Regions from separate parts of the Homo sapiens genome. Here regions 2 and 3 are each linked to region 1. Evidence: promoter capture Hi-C in human tissues and cell types (Jung and others, 2019). All regions are on one chromosome and are shown on one strand. Each heading gives the region's core, a stretch centred on a gene start or on the middle of the fragment in contact. The rest is flanking DNA. Distances are from core to core; before and after follow the strand shown. Region 1 holds the start of IRF9 (interferon regulatory factor 9). Region 2 overlaps ZFHX2 (zinc finger homeobox 2). Region 3 holds the start of EFS (embryonal Fyn-associated substrate).

Region 1 (4,299 bases), core at 1,800-4,299:
GCTTTTTGGAGTCTGGCCAGGCATATGGAATTCTCGCCACCTAGAAACCACTGCCTAGGGCTATGGTAATGTGGGTACAGTTTGCTGTAAGCCCTGACTGACTAGATAATGCATGCATAGTCAAAGGTGGAAGACCTCAGGGGCACAGGGCACAGGAGAAAGTCAGAAATGCCACGTACCTGGCTCTGGAGGAAGCAGAAACTCCAGGGACCTCTGATCCCCTTGAAAGGGGGCCTCAGTTGTGTCTGTAACTGGAAGGGAAGCAAAGGCACTGGTCATTCAGAGTGGGACTGGGGAGTCTTGGGCCAGAGGGTGTGGCATGGGGGACGACACAAGAGGCAGGGCAGGTGGTACCTTCCTGTGGCTCAGGGCTGCTGCTGCTGCTGCTGCTCCCAATGTCTGAATGGACTGCTCCCCCACTGGCCCCCTCCTCCTCCTGCGGACACAGTGTCTTTTTATTTTTTTTCTCTTTTTTTGAGACAGAGTTTCACTCTTGTTGCCCAGGCTGGAGTGCAGTGGCGCGATCTCGGCTCACTGCTATCTCCGCCCCCCGGTTCAAGCGATTCTCCTGCCTCGGCCTCCTGAGTAGCTGGGATTACAGGCAGATGCCACAACGCACAGCTAATTTTTGTATTTTTAGTAGAGACGGGTTCTCACCATGTTGGTCGAGGCTGGTTTCGAACTTCTGACCTCACGTGATCTGCCAGCCTCGGCCTCCCAAGACACAGTGTCTTTCATTGGCCCACCTCTCCCTCTGGTTACTGTCCTGCCCTTAGGCCCACCCAGTTCCCTCTCCATCTCTTACATTATTGAGGGAGTCCTGGAGCACAGAGGGACTGAGTGTGCAGTTCTGCATGGCATCCTCTTCCTCCTTCCTCTCAGAGGACACAGAACTGTGCTGTCGCTTTGATGGTACTTTCTGAGTCCCTGGCTGGCCTGTGGAATTGTTGAGGGACAGAGAAAGGTCAGGGTCTTGAGCAAGGACAGAGGGTGAAGGAGAGGTCTGAGGCAGTGAAGGATGGGCAGGTCTAGGAAGGGAAACCTGGGTTGCAGCCCCCCAAGGGCATGGACAGGGCAGAGCTATAAGCCTGGGGGAAGCCTGCACATCTATCCTTCCTCCCCAGTCTGCTGAGTCTAGCAGTGGTTGGACAAGGGGAAACTCACCAGAGACGATTCCTGGTGGCAGCAACTGATACACCTTGTAGGGCTCAGCAACATCCATGCGGCCCCTCTCAGGAACCTCCTTAAATTCAGAACTCTTGTTGAGTGCACAGCGCAGGCGAGTCTTCCAGACAGCTGGACCTCCTGTGTCCCCCTCCTTATACTTTCCCTTAAATATTGCCCAGGCCTAGGAAAGAAAGCAAGGGAAGAAGAGGCAGTGTGTTACAGGCTCCACCTGCCCCTCCAATAGGACTGGCTTTACAGGCGTGCAGCTCTGAGCTCAGAAGGGATTATGCAGGGTCTGTGCTCTGCGTTGCCATCTTGAAATCCTTGGAAATTTTTTTTTTTTTTTTTTGAGACAGAGTCTCACTCTGTCACCAGGCTGGAGTGCAGTGGTGCGATCTCGACTCACTACAACTCCACCTCCCTGGTTCAAGCGATTCTCCTGCCTCAGTCTCCCGAGTAGCTGGGACTACAGGCATGCACCGCTAGGCCCAGCTAAGTTTTGTATTTTTAGTAGAGACAGGGTTTCACCATGTTGGCCAGGCTGGTCTTGATCTCTTGACCTCGTGATCCACCCACCTTGGCCTCCCGAAGTGCTGGGATTACAGGCGTGAGCCACCGTGCCTGGCCAATATCCCTAAAATTTTTGAACAAGGCCTCCACATTTTCATTTTGTACTGGACTCTGCAAATGATGCAGCTAGTTTTCCTCTCCAATCTGTCCCTTATCTGAAACCCAGGCAGACGCAAGTGCTCGAGGATGAGTGTACCAGTGTGTATACACCATCCCACACACAGAGGAACAGTGGTTTCCAGGCCCTTTCACCTTGAAGAAGGCAGCATCCTGGTCCTCCCGGAAGTCCTGCTTGCCTGCATGTTTCCAGGGAATCCGGAACATGGTCTTAGCTGTATCATCCCAGCACACTCCGGGAAACTGCCCACTCTCCACTTGCTCCACCACCCAGTTCCGGAGTTTTCGGGTGCAGCGTGCCCTGCCTGATGCCATCCTGGGGGATAATAGGAGCAGGATGCATCAGAACTGACACTTTGGGAGGGAACATCTCCTGAGACCCTGGCCATTGAGACTAGATTCTGGCAACAGGTCCCAGAGATCCCATCCATCTTCTTTTAGCTCCAAACACATTTCAACACTCTATGGGACAGAATTGTTTCCTTTCTGCCATCACTAGCAGTGACAAACAACAACAACAACAACAAAACCCCCCAAAACATTGTTTTTAGCACTCTAAGCTGTGATACCTGGAAGGAAACCTTGGGCACTGGTCTTAATTTTAGGACTTTTCAGAGATGTATTGTTTACAAAAGAATTCCTTTGGTGATCGTTCCTGGTGACAGGCCCTGTCTAGATTCCCGAGCATCAGCAGAGGTAGGTTCTGCTGAGATCCATCAGGCTCTTCACCCACCGCCCCACAGCCTACACAACCTAGCCTGACCCCCACCCCCTGCCGGCCCCAGGAGTAGGTGGGGCAGGAAGTAGGGGTGGGGTTGGAGCTGCAGCAGAAGTGGGCAGGGCCAGATGGCAAGGAAACAAATGGTCCACTGAGGCTGGGGCCAGGAGCCTTCTTCCTTGAACAATCCAGCAGTAGGTCCTCCTGACCTTTGCCTACAAGGGTCTGGGGAGCTGGCCCTTGTCAGTCTCACTCTCAGGCTGAATCTCCCACTTCCTGACTTAAGAGATCTTCTGTCTATCCCTCAGTCTAACAGAGCGACCCCTAGGACCCCCTGCCCTCAATCTGGCTGGACTTTCTAGCCCTAGATCCCAGGCTGACTCCCATCCTTGGCTGATCTTACCTGAGTTGCTGTCCAGGCTGTCGCAGGGCTCAGACGACCTCAGCTTAACTCCTGGCTGGGCGGCTGATCTCTCCGCCCCTTTCTACAGTCCCCACCCTAAGTTTCAGTTCTCCTCCAGGGAGGGCCTTTTCCCAGAAATCACGTGGTCTGAGTTGCAGGGAACTGGCGGCCACTAGAGGGCAGCAGCATCTGAGCATCTCACTATCAGGATGCCACTGTCGCAGCAGGGGGGCCCTGCCCTGCTGGCTCAGCTCCAGCCTGGCTCATTCCCCTGCCTCCCTCAGATACTCTTGCTTCTATCTGACCTCTGGGTGACACCGTGGCTTCCCCAGGGAGGCCAGTTTCCTGGAGTCAGGCCTGGGACCTCTGGACTGCTGTGTACACCTGTGCATCTGCATTCCCCCACAGTGCCCACCTGATACATATTGGGTGACTTCAAATACCAGTCAAATTCTATGAAAGGAAAAAAGGAGGCAGGGAGGGAGGAAGCCCAGGCCAGGCTGCTGGATGGGGAGGGCCTCCCTTGACCATCCAGGGTGTCAACTCCTTCCTGGTCCTGAGTCCAGGGAGGGTCAGGCACTAGGTTGCAGGGGGCCCTTTTCAGCAAAGCTCTGTTCACCCCGCTCTTTCCCTGGTGCCCCTAGATGGTGGCACCAGGAAGAAGGACCACCAAGAAGCCTGGGTGGTAAGATGCCTCTTTATTGGTGCTGGAGCTGTTCCTGAGGGAGCAGGCCATGGGACCCTCATCGGGACCCTTGCCCTCAGCTACTTCCGCCTGCGGGGGATACTCTGTCCCAAGGGTACCTCTTCTGTCAGCTTCTGCAGAAGGAGAGAGAAGGTAATGATATTGGAAGCCTGGAGCTCAGACACAGTCAGCACCAGGTGACTTCTGTAGGGTGGGTTAAGAGATGAGGCTGGGTGGAGGCTATACCTGTAACAAGCGGGCCTGGTAAGCAGGGGGATCCTCTCCAGCCAAAGGCTGGGGGCGTACGTGCAGGTAGCGCTCAGTGGCCGTCTCCAGCTCTTCCACCTCATACAAGGTGGCTGGGTCCAGCGAGTGGGCATTGATGAGGCTCACAAGATACTCTTTGTAGTGTGCCCTGGGGAGAAAAGGGAGCAGAATATTTGTTGTGTTGGCTAATATTAACTGAGTGTGTCTAACATAGCTGGACTCTGAGACACCTGGACGAACAAGATTAACAACCCACCTGTGCCCACACTGCCTGCTACTATCTACCCATGCCCTTGCCCAGAAAGCCTCCTCCCTCCCACCCACTGCAAGACCTACTGCTCCCAAGGACCCATTTTACTGCCTGGGCATGCC
Region 2 (3,865 bases), core at 123-2,622, 630 kb after region 1:
TGTCCAAGGGACAGTCTAGCTGGGTGGAGGAGTCTAGACCACAACTTTGGGGTTTACTCAGTGCCTCATCAGTCCATTTCTAGTTTCACTATCTTGGAGCTGTGTGACCCTCAGTAGCTCACTTAACATCTCTGTTTCTTGGATGCCCCATCCATAAAATAAGGTTGCTGTGAGATTAAATGAGATGATTAACATAAAGCATTTAACATAGTGCCAGGACCATGGTATATGTACCTACATAACTATTAGTAATATTATTACTATTACTTATTATTTGTTACCTCTTTTGGGAGGAAGAGGAGGCAACCGACTAGCTGTTATCTTTCAACTGACCAGAGAAGCTCCCATCTGTTCCACATGCTGTGACCAGAGATGGATCTGGAAGGCATTGGAGAGAAGCATGGTGCCTGCATGCCAGGGGAAATCAATTATGCCCTATCTCTGGCAAGACTTAGGGAATTTACCTCGTCAGGGTATGGAAAATCTGAGGGTCTTTCCTAGAATTCTGCCATTCAAAAGACACTGACTGTGGCAGGCATTGTTTTCTGTGCTAAAGATAGAGCAAAAACTAAAGCCCCCATTCTGGCTGCTGGATGGAGAGAAAATACACTGTAGCGGGCAGTAGTGGAAGTGGGAGGCCAGTGTGGCATCTGTTGTGTTAGTCCAGGAAAGAGATGATAATGGCCTGCCTTCTGTGCTGCCCGGATTTCAGCGGGCCCCAGGATGGTGTTAGTGAAGGAGATAAATGGAGGGATTGACATGTTTTAGAAGTTGCTGTTGAAGTGGATATGTCCAGTAGGTGAGGGCAAGATAAAACTTTGGGTTTTTAGTCTAAGCCACTGGATAAATGTTGGTACCAACTTTGGAGATAGGAAAGATGGGGAGGAGCAGGTTCAGGGGACAAATAAAGAGTTCTAGGCTGGGCGCGGTGGCTCACGCCTATAATCCTAGCACTTTGGGAGGCCGAGGTGGGCGGATCACTTGAGGTCGGGAGTTAGAGACCAGCCTGACCAACACGGAGAAACCCCGTCTCTACTAAAAATACAAAATTAGTCAGGTGTGGTGGCACAAGCCTGTAATCCCAGCTACTCAGGAGGCTGAGGCAGGAGAATCACTTGAACCCAGGAGGTGGAGGTTGCGGTGAGCCGAGATCACGCCATTGCACTCCATCCTGGGCAACAAGAGCAAAACTCCATCTCAAAAAAAAATTAATTAATTAATAAAATAAAATAAAATAAATAAAATGAAGAGTTCTGATGTTGGACATATTAAGTTTTGAAGCATGTTAGACACTAAGTGAAATTTCAGGTTAGCAAAGTGGTGTCTGAGTCTGGTGTTCAGGGAAGAGGATGGGGCAGGAGTATCCAGAGATCCAGCTGCCCAGCTGGGGTCCCTGCAGCCTCACAGCACTGCTCTCTCCTTGTCTCCCTACAGGGTACTGGCTGTCACGCTGACATGAGCCCCCAGCACTCCTCCGTCTACCATGGCCACCCTTAACTCAGCCTCTACCACTGGTACCACCCCCTCCCCTGGGCACAATGCCCCGTCCCTGCCTTCGGACACCTTCTCCTCCAGCACCCCCTCTGATCCTGTCACCAAAGATCCCCCTGCTGCCTCCTCCACCTCTGAGAACATGAGGTCCTCAGAGCCAGGGGGACAGCTCCTGGAGTCGGGCTGTGGCCTCGTCCCACCAAAGGAGATTGGGGAGCCCCAGGAAGGGCCTGACTGTGGTCACTTCCCACCAAATGACCCAGGGGTGGAAAAGGACAAGGAGCAGGAGGAGGAAGAAGAAGGGCTCCCTCCCATGGACCTAAGCAACCACTTATTCTTCACAGCTGGAGGTGAGGCCTACCTAGTGGCCAAGCTGTCCCTGCCAGGTGGCAGTGAACTCCTGTTACCAAAGGGCTTCCCCTGGGGTGAGGCGGGCATCAAGGAAGAGCCCAGTCTGCCCTTCCTTGCCTACCCACCCCCCTCACACCTCACTGCCCTTCACATCCAACATGGCTTTGACCCAATCCAAGGCTTTAGCTCTTCTGACCAAATTCTGTCCCATGATACCTCAGCACCATCTCCGGCTGCCTGTGAGGAAAGGCATGGAGCTTTCTGGAGCTACCAGCTGGCTCCAAATCCACCCGGAGATCCCAAAGATGGCCCCATGGGGAACAGCGGGGGCAACCACGTGGCGGTCTTCTGGCTCTGCCTTCTGTGCCGCCTGGGTTTCAGCAAGCCCCAGGCCTTTATGGATCACACACAGTCTCATGGGGTGAAGCTAACCCCTGCCCAATATCAGGGCCTGTCAGGTAGCCCAGCTGTACTCCAGGAGGGAGATGAAGGCTGCAAGGCCCTCATAAGCTTTCTGGAGCCAAAACTCCCTGCTCGCCCCTCTTCTGACATACCCCTTGACAACAGCAGCACAGTGAACATGGAGGCGAATGTGGCCCAGACAGAGGATGGCCCCCCTGAGGCAGAAGTCCAGGCCCTTATCCTCCTGGATGAAGAAGTTATGGCCCTCAGCCCACCCTCTCCACCCACAGCCACCTGGGACCCCAGCCCAACCCAAGCCAAAGAATCGCCAGTAGCAGCAGGCGAGGCAGGGCCAGATTGGTTCCCTGAGGGGCAAGAAGAGGATGGAGGGCTCTGCCCCCCACTCAACCAAAGCTCACCCACCTCCAAGGAGGGGGGCACTCTCCCTGCCCCAGTGGGCTCCCCCGAAGACCCCAGTGACCCACCCCAGCCCTATCGCCTAGCTGATGACTACACCCCAGCCCCTGCAGCCTTCCAGGGCCTCAGCCTGTCCAGCCACATGTCCCTGCTCCACTCACGCAACTCCTGCAAGACACTCAAGTGTCCCAAGTGCAACTGGCACTACAAGTACCAGCAGACCCTGGATGTGCACATGCGAGAGAAGCACCCTGAGAGCAACAGTCACTGCAGCTACTGCAGTGCTGGGGGCGCCCACCCCCGCCTTGCTCGTGGAGAGAGCTACAACTGTGGCTACAAACCCTACCGCTGTGACGTCTGCAACTACTCTACAACCACCAAAGGCAACCTCAGCATCCATATGCAGTCTGACAAGCACCTGGCCAACCTACAGGGCTTCCAGGCGGGCCCTGGTGGGCAGGGAAGTCCACCAGAGGCATCACTCCCACCCTCCGCGGGAGACAAAGAGCCTAAGACCAAATCATCCTGGCAGTGCAAGGTGTGCAGCTACGAGACAAACATCTCCCGTAACCTGCGCATCCATATGACCTCTGAGAAGCACATGCAGAATGTCCTAATGCTGCACCAGGGGCTGCCGCTGGGCCTGCCACCTGGATTGATGGGGCCAGGCCCTCCTCCCCCACCAGGGGCTACCCCCACTAGCCCCCCTGAACTCTTCCAGTACTTTGGGCCCCAGGCCCTAGGGCAGCCTCAGACTCCCTTGGCTGGCCCGGGGCTGAGGCCAGACAAGCCCCTGGAAGCCCAGCTACTTCTCAATGGTTTCCACCACGTAGGAGCACCTGCCCGCAAGTTCCCCACATCCGGTAAGCTTCTGTGCTTCTTCCCTCTTCTCTCCTCCCCAGGGCCAAACTCTATTCCGTGCTTTCTCCCAAGGACCAACTCCCCACTTAGGTAACCATAAGTCCCTCTGAGCACTATCCTACTCATTAACCCACCTCCCCACATAGAGAACCAACCGTGCCCCATTTCTTTCTTGGGCCACTAATCTGTCTCTGTCCTCTAGCCCCTGGAAGCCTATCCCCTGATGCCCACCTGCCTCCAAGTCAGCTCCTGGGTTCCTCATCTGACAGCCTGCCCACCTCACCACCCCCAGACGACAGCCTGTCCCTGAAGGTGTTCCGCTGCCTAGTGTGCCAGGCCTTCA
Region 3 (4,252 bases), core at 1,415-3,914, 800 kb after region 1:
GCATTCATCTTTGAAGACAGGGTTTCCTGCCCACCTCCACCTTGGACCCCAATTTGCCTTGGCAGTCTCCTGGGCAGAGATCACACCAAGTCACTCGCCAGCAGCTGGATATCCGTGTGCCTGGCAGCCAGGTCCCCCAGGGCTGGGGTCTGGAAGAGGTTGGAAAATCTTCCCTAGTGGCCACCTCTAACCTAACTGGAGCTGGGAAGCAGGAGCTCTCCCTGGAAATTTAAAAGTTCCTCTACCATCCCAGTGGAGTTGGAATCTATTCAGGAGTCTTCCATCATGGAGAGCCAGCCTAGAGCCAACACAGTTTATCCCCATCCCCATGTTTATCCCAGAATCTCTCCCTATTCCACCCCATAGGCTCCACCACACCCTTCCAGCAGAGGTTTCTTCACAGGTGCCCAGGTAATACAGTGGGGAAGGAGCTGGGGCAGGTGTCCTGACCACACTCTCCTAGGAAATGCCTAGATGTGTGGGCCTGTGGAATATTGAGGCAAGGTTATCTGTCCAGGGCCTCAAGTTCACCAAGGGCCTTATATTACATTTCTGATCTTGTCTCCAAATAAGGTTATGCACAGAGTCATTCTCTATTGTATGTGTTTGAAGCGTTAATTTGTTCAATGTAAACATCCAAAATATACCACAGCTTTCAATCCTGTTTGTCATCTTGCTTTTTAAATACCAGGAACCTCAAAAATGGAAGAAGGCAGGCTTCACTCAAGCCTGAGAGGCCCTGATGTGTGTGTCCCAGAGGGAAGGTCCAGGGAAGCAGCACACACTAAGGAGTTATCCCAGGGCAGAGGAGCTGTAGGGGGCTAGGAGCACCATCCTTTCAGTGGAAACTCCTGGTGGGGCTAGATCCCATCTCCTCTGGAAGAGTTCTAGCAACTTTTGTGCCAGCGGTCCTGCCCAATCCTCTCCTCATAGCAGCAAGAGTGAGCCAGGCTGAGGAGGCCGACAGGCCCAGACTGGCAGAGGAGTGTAAGAGGCCGCACAACCTGCCCGCCTGCAGTTCTGGGGCCAGACGCCCTGCTTCATGTTGTCACTAGGGCCAGAATCCATGTCCAGCGCCAGACTCCCCTCCTGTGCCCCGCAAGAACGGCCCAGCGAACCCTGTGTAGGGGAGGCGCCGAGGATTGGAGAGGCTCTGCTAAGGGCCCCGCTGGGCGGAAGGCGCGCGCTCCCTCCCATGGGAAAGACAGATGTGGGGCTAATGAAAGGGAGGCCGAGAGGCGCGGGGACGGCCGGGGAGACGGGGGCGTGGCGGGGAGAGGAAAGCTCCCGGAGAAAGCCGATCGGACCACCGCAAGCGAGGCATGCAGCGGAGTCCGGAGGAGGAAGGCGCCGGGGACTGGGGCAGGGCCAGGGCGGGACGGGGGTGGGGGGTGTGGGGGGTACCACAGGCAGTTGGACCCGAGGGTCCTGAGCTGAAACTCAACACCCGCCTTTGGAAGGATCGTCCCTCTTTCTCCTCCGCCCCTTCCCTTCCCCTCCCCTTTCCCCTCCCTCCTTTCTCTTAATCCCCAGGACGGAGCCCTGCGCGGGAGAGGAGAGGGCCTGAGGGGAGGAGAAAGGAACAGCACTGAGAGGGGCCAGGAGCCCAGGAAGGGGAGGGAAGGGCAGCCGCGGGCCAGGGGTGAGCCTGCGGGCCACGCGCGACCCCCGGAGCCTTCGCAGCCCTCTCAGTGTCCCCACTCCCAGCCCAGGCGAGTCCACAGGACCCGGGCCCCTGCTCCTCCCTCGCCTTCTCTTTGCTCCTTCTTTTGCTTTGTGGCCTTTCTTTCCCTTCCCAGAGACACCTGGGAGCTGCCCCCAAGCTTTGGGGCGCCCCGCGGGGCCCTGCCAAGGGTGCGTGTGAGAGAGGGCGGCGGAGCCGGCGCCGGGTGCCAGGGGCCGAGGGTGGGAGCGGGAGCTCGTGGCCCTGCGCCCTGGAGCCGAGGACTGGAAGGGGGCTGGGCCCCTCCGCCGCCTGGGCGCAGGCCGCGCGTCGGGAAGGCAGTCCCGCCTGTTCCAGGGGTGCCTGCGTGCTGGTTGCTGCTGCCCGGGGCGAGGCGCCGTAGCGGCGACCTCAGACCCCCGGGCGCGCTGAGTGAGTGCGCGCGTGAAAACCGCCGCACCGCCGGGGGTGCGAGTGTCTGGGCCGAAGCGGCCACTCCAGCGACCCAGCCCCACGGCCACGCTCTCGGGGGCCTTTGGCTCCAGGCAACTTGGGGCAAGCGTCTCAGTTCTCGCTCTCCCTTCCTCCCAGCGGGGTCGCCGCAGACCCCAGCCCTGGGAGCACCGCTCTGCAGCGCGGCCGGCGGGTGGAGACGGTTGGCCCCTAAACTCGCTCGTCCAGCCCAACCGCCCCGGCGGCTTCTCCCAGCCCTCGAGGCTCTCCTGAGCGGCCTGGAGAGGCGTCGAGCGCAGCCCAGCGCCCGCCTGCTCACCCGCCCCGGCCCGGGAAGGGAATTTTCGGATCCTGCGAGCCCGGGGCGCCCCCGCGGCCTAGGGCGGGCAGCTCCCGGGGCCTGGCCGAGCCGGTGGCGCCCGGGAGGCCGCGGGGACAGCACGCAGCGCGCGCCCTTGGATGCCGTCCCGCAGCGACGCCCCGGCCCGCCCCGCTCCTCCTCCTGCCTGGCTAGCCTGCCTCTCATTTGGGAAGTTTTGTGGGTTTTCTTTCTCCTCCTCCAACCTTGGCGGAGGCCACGACTCAGGCGCCACAGCTGGGGGCTAGAGGCCGCGGACCATGGTGCGGGGCAGCCACCGCTGAAGTCAGCAAAACCGAGCCTGGCCTGAGGCAGGCTGCGCGGGAGGCCAAAGCCATGGCCATTGCCACGTCGGTGAGTCCACCAGGGAGTGGAGGCTGCCGGGGAGAGACCTCCACGGCCTGCCCTGCGCTCCTGTCACTTTATTTCTGCCCTCTCTTTGTCTCTCTCCTTGGTCCCTTTCTTCTCCAGGAGGCTGTGTCCCCCTCCTCTCACTTTTGTTTCCCTTCTCCCTCTCACTCCTCATCCCCTGCTCCTCCTGGCTCCGGGCTCGCCCCTCTTCCCCGCCCCCTCCCCATTCTCCTTTTTCTTCCTAGAGGCTGCGCCTGAATGGAGGGGAAGGGGCAAGCGTAGCCCGAGTCCTATCTGCTCCTTTTGGGCGGGAACAGATGGCCACTGGTGGTTGGCAGAGGCTTGTGGTTGGGAGGCAAGTAAAAGGTTTGGAGGGGGCTGAAAGGACCTAGTGGCTCACGGAAAACGGAAAACGAGAGGCTGAACGACCCCAGGAGGCCCATCTCGAGACGAGGGATAAGGAAAAAAGGGAGATAGAGCAAAGGAGGGAGATCAAGAAAGAGAAGACAGAGGGAGGAGGGGAGGTGATGTCAGCCAGAGCCTCAGGCCACTTTCCAGGGATCGGGACAAAGGGAGGAGACAGCTGGCATGATGGGACAGTGGGAGGAGGCCTCCCAGAGAGCACAGAGGCTCTCTGCCACCTACATTAGGCTGGCCATTCCCTCACCAGTCAGCTGGGCTGCTGGGGGATAGAGCAGGAGTGGTCACACCCATCATCAATCAGTCCATCAACAACTCTGTCCTGCAATGGCAGGGCCCAGAGGCTTGGCTCCATTGGACAGAACTCAGTCCTAACACCGGGAGGAGCGCTCTACAGCCCCACCTCTGCTTTCTGTTCTACAGTCTATGCAGTCTGAATCCAGGCAGCTTTGTTCCCTTTCCACCCTCTTCTAGGTCCTGCCTAAGATTCCCAGGGAAGCGAGGCCGTCACCTGCTTTCTGTTCCCTTCTCAGTGGGGACTCTCGGAGAGAGACTGGAAAGAGAAGCACAGAGCCACCCAATGTCCTCCCATACCCTTTGAGGACAGGTTCAAGTTTGGTTCTTTCTCAGACCAAACTCCATTTTTTTTTTTTTTTTGAGACAAGGTCTCACCCTGTCACCCAGGCTGGAGTGCAGTGGCACAATCACGGCTCAATGCAGCCTCGACCTCCTGGGCTCAGGTGATCCACCTACCTCAGCCTCTTGAGTAGCTGGGACTACAAGCACGCACCACCACATCAGCTTTTTGTATTTTTTGTAGAGGCAGGGTTTCGCCATGTTGCCCAGGCTGGTCTCAAACTCCTGGGCTCAAACAATCCATCCGCCTCAGCCTCCCAAAGTGCTGAGATTACAGGCATGAGCCACCGCACCTGGCCCCAAATTCCTTTTAGTTCCTCAATCTGTAACGATGGCCAGGAAACCCTAGCTCAGAGTGGGGAAGGAGGCCC

Evidence for each region. The method cuts DNA at HindIII sites, captures the fragments that hold promoters and counts their contacts. A contact is called where the count stands out against the background at its distance.
Region 2: a fragment that was not itself captured here is called in contact with the fragment with the promoter of IRF9 in region 1 in 1 of the 25 tissues and cell types used here (H1 embryonic stem cells).
Region 3: the fragment with the promoter of EFS here is called in contact with the fragment with the promoter of IRF9 in region 1 in 1 of the 25 tissues and cell types used here (dorsolateral prefrontal cortex).

Annotation. Positions count from the first base shown.
Region 1 is chr14:24,160,015-24,164,313 of GRCh38, reverse strand. IRF9 (interferon regulatory factor 9) reads right to left here and starts at 3,049. Exons shown (of 9, transcript NM_006084.5): 1 at 2,976-3,049; 2 at 1,990-2,170; 3 at 1,165-1,348; 4 at 806-936; 5 at 355-436; 6 at 180-251. The coding sequence starts at 2,169. RNF31 (ring finger protein 31) reads right to left here. Exons shown (of 21, transcript NM_017999.5): 20 at 3,907-4,075; 21 at 3,659-3,794. The coding sequence ends at 3,741. RefSeq lists enhancers at 1,884-1,943, 2,933-3,322. The HindIII fragment of the contact is 9,939 bases long and covers 1-4,299 here.
Region 2 is chr14:23,532,944-23,536,808 of GRCh38, reverse strand. It overlaps ZFHX2 (zinc finger homeobox 2), which reads left to right. Exons shown (of 10, transcript NM_033400.3): 2 at 1,435-3,524; 3 at 3,725-3,865. The coding sequence starts at 1,484. It also overlaps a transcript of THTPA not described here. Among named protein-coding and RNA genes, the nearest start is that of ZFHX2, 17 kb to the left of the region's middle. The HindIII fragment of the contact is 6,986 bases long and covers 1-3,865 here.
Region 3 is chr14:23,363,584-23,367,835 of GRCh38, reverse strand. EFS (embryonal Fyn-associated substrate) reads left to right here and starts at 2,664. Exons shown (of 6, transcript NM_005864.4): 1 at 2,664-2,828. The coding sequence starts at 2,811. RefSeq lists enhancers at 3,566-4,066, 4,067-4,252. The HindIII fragment of the contact is 8,966 bases long and covers 759-4,252 here.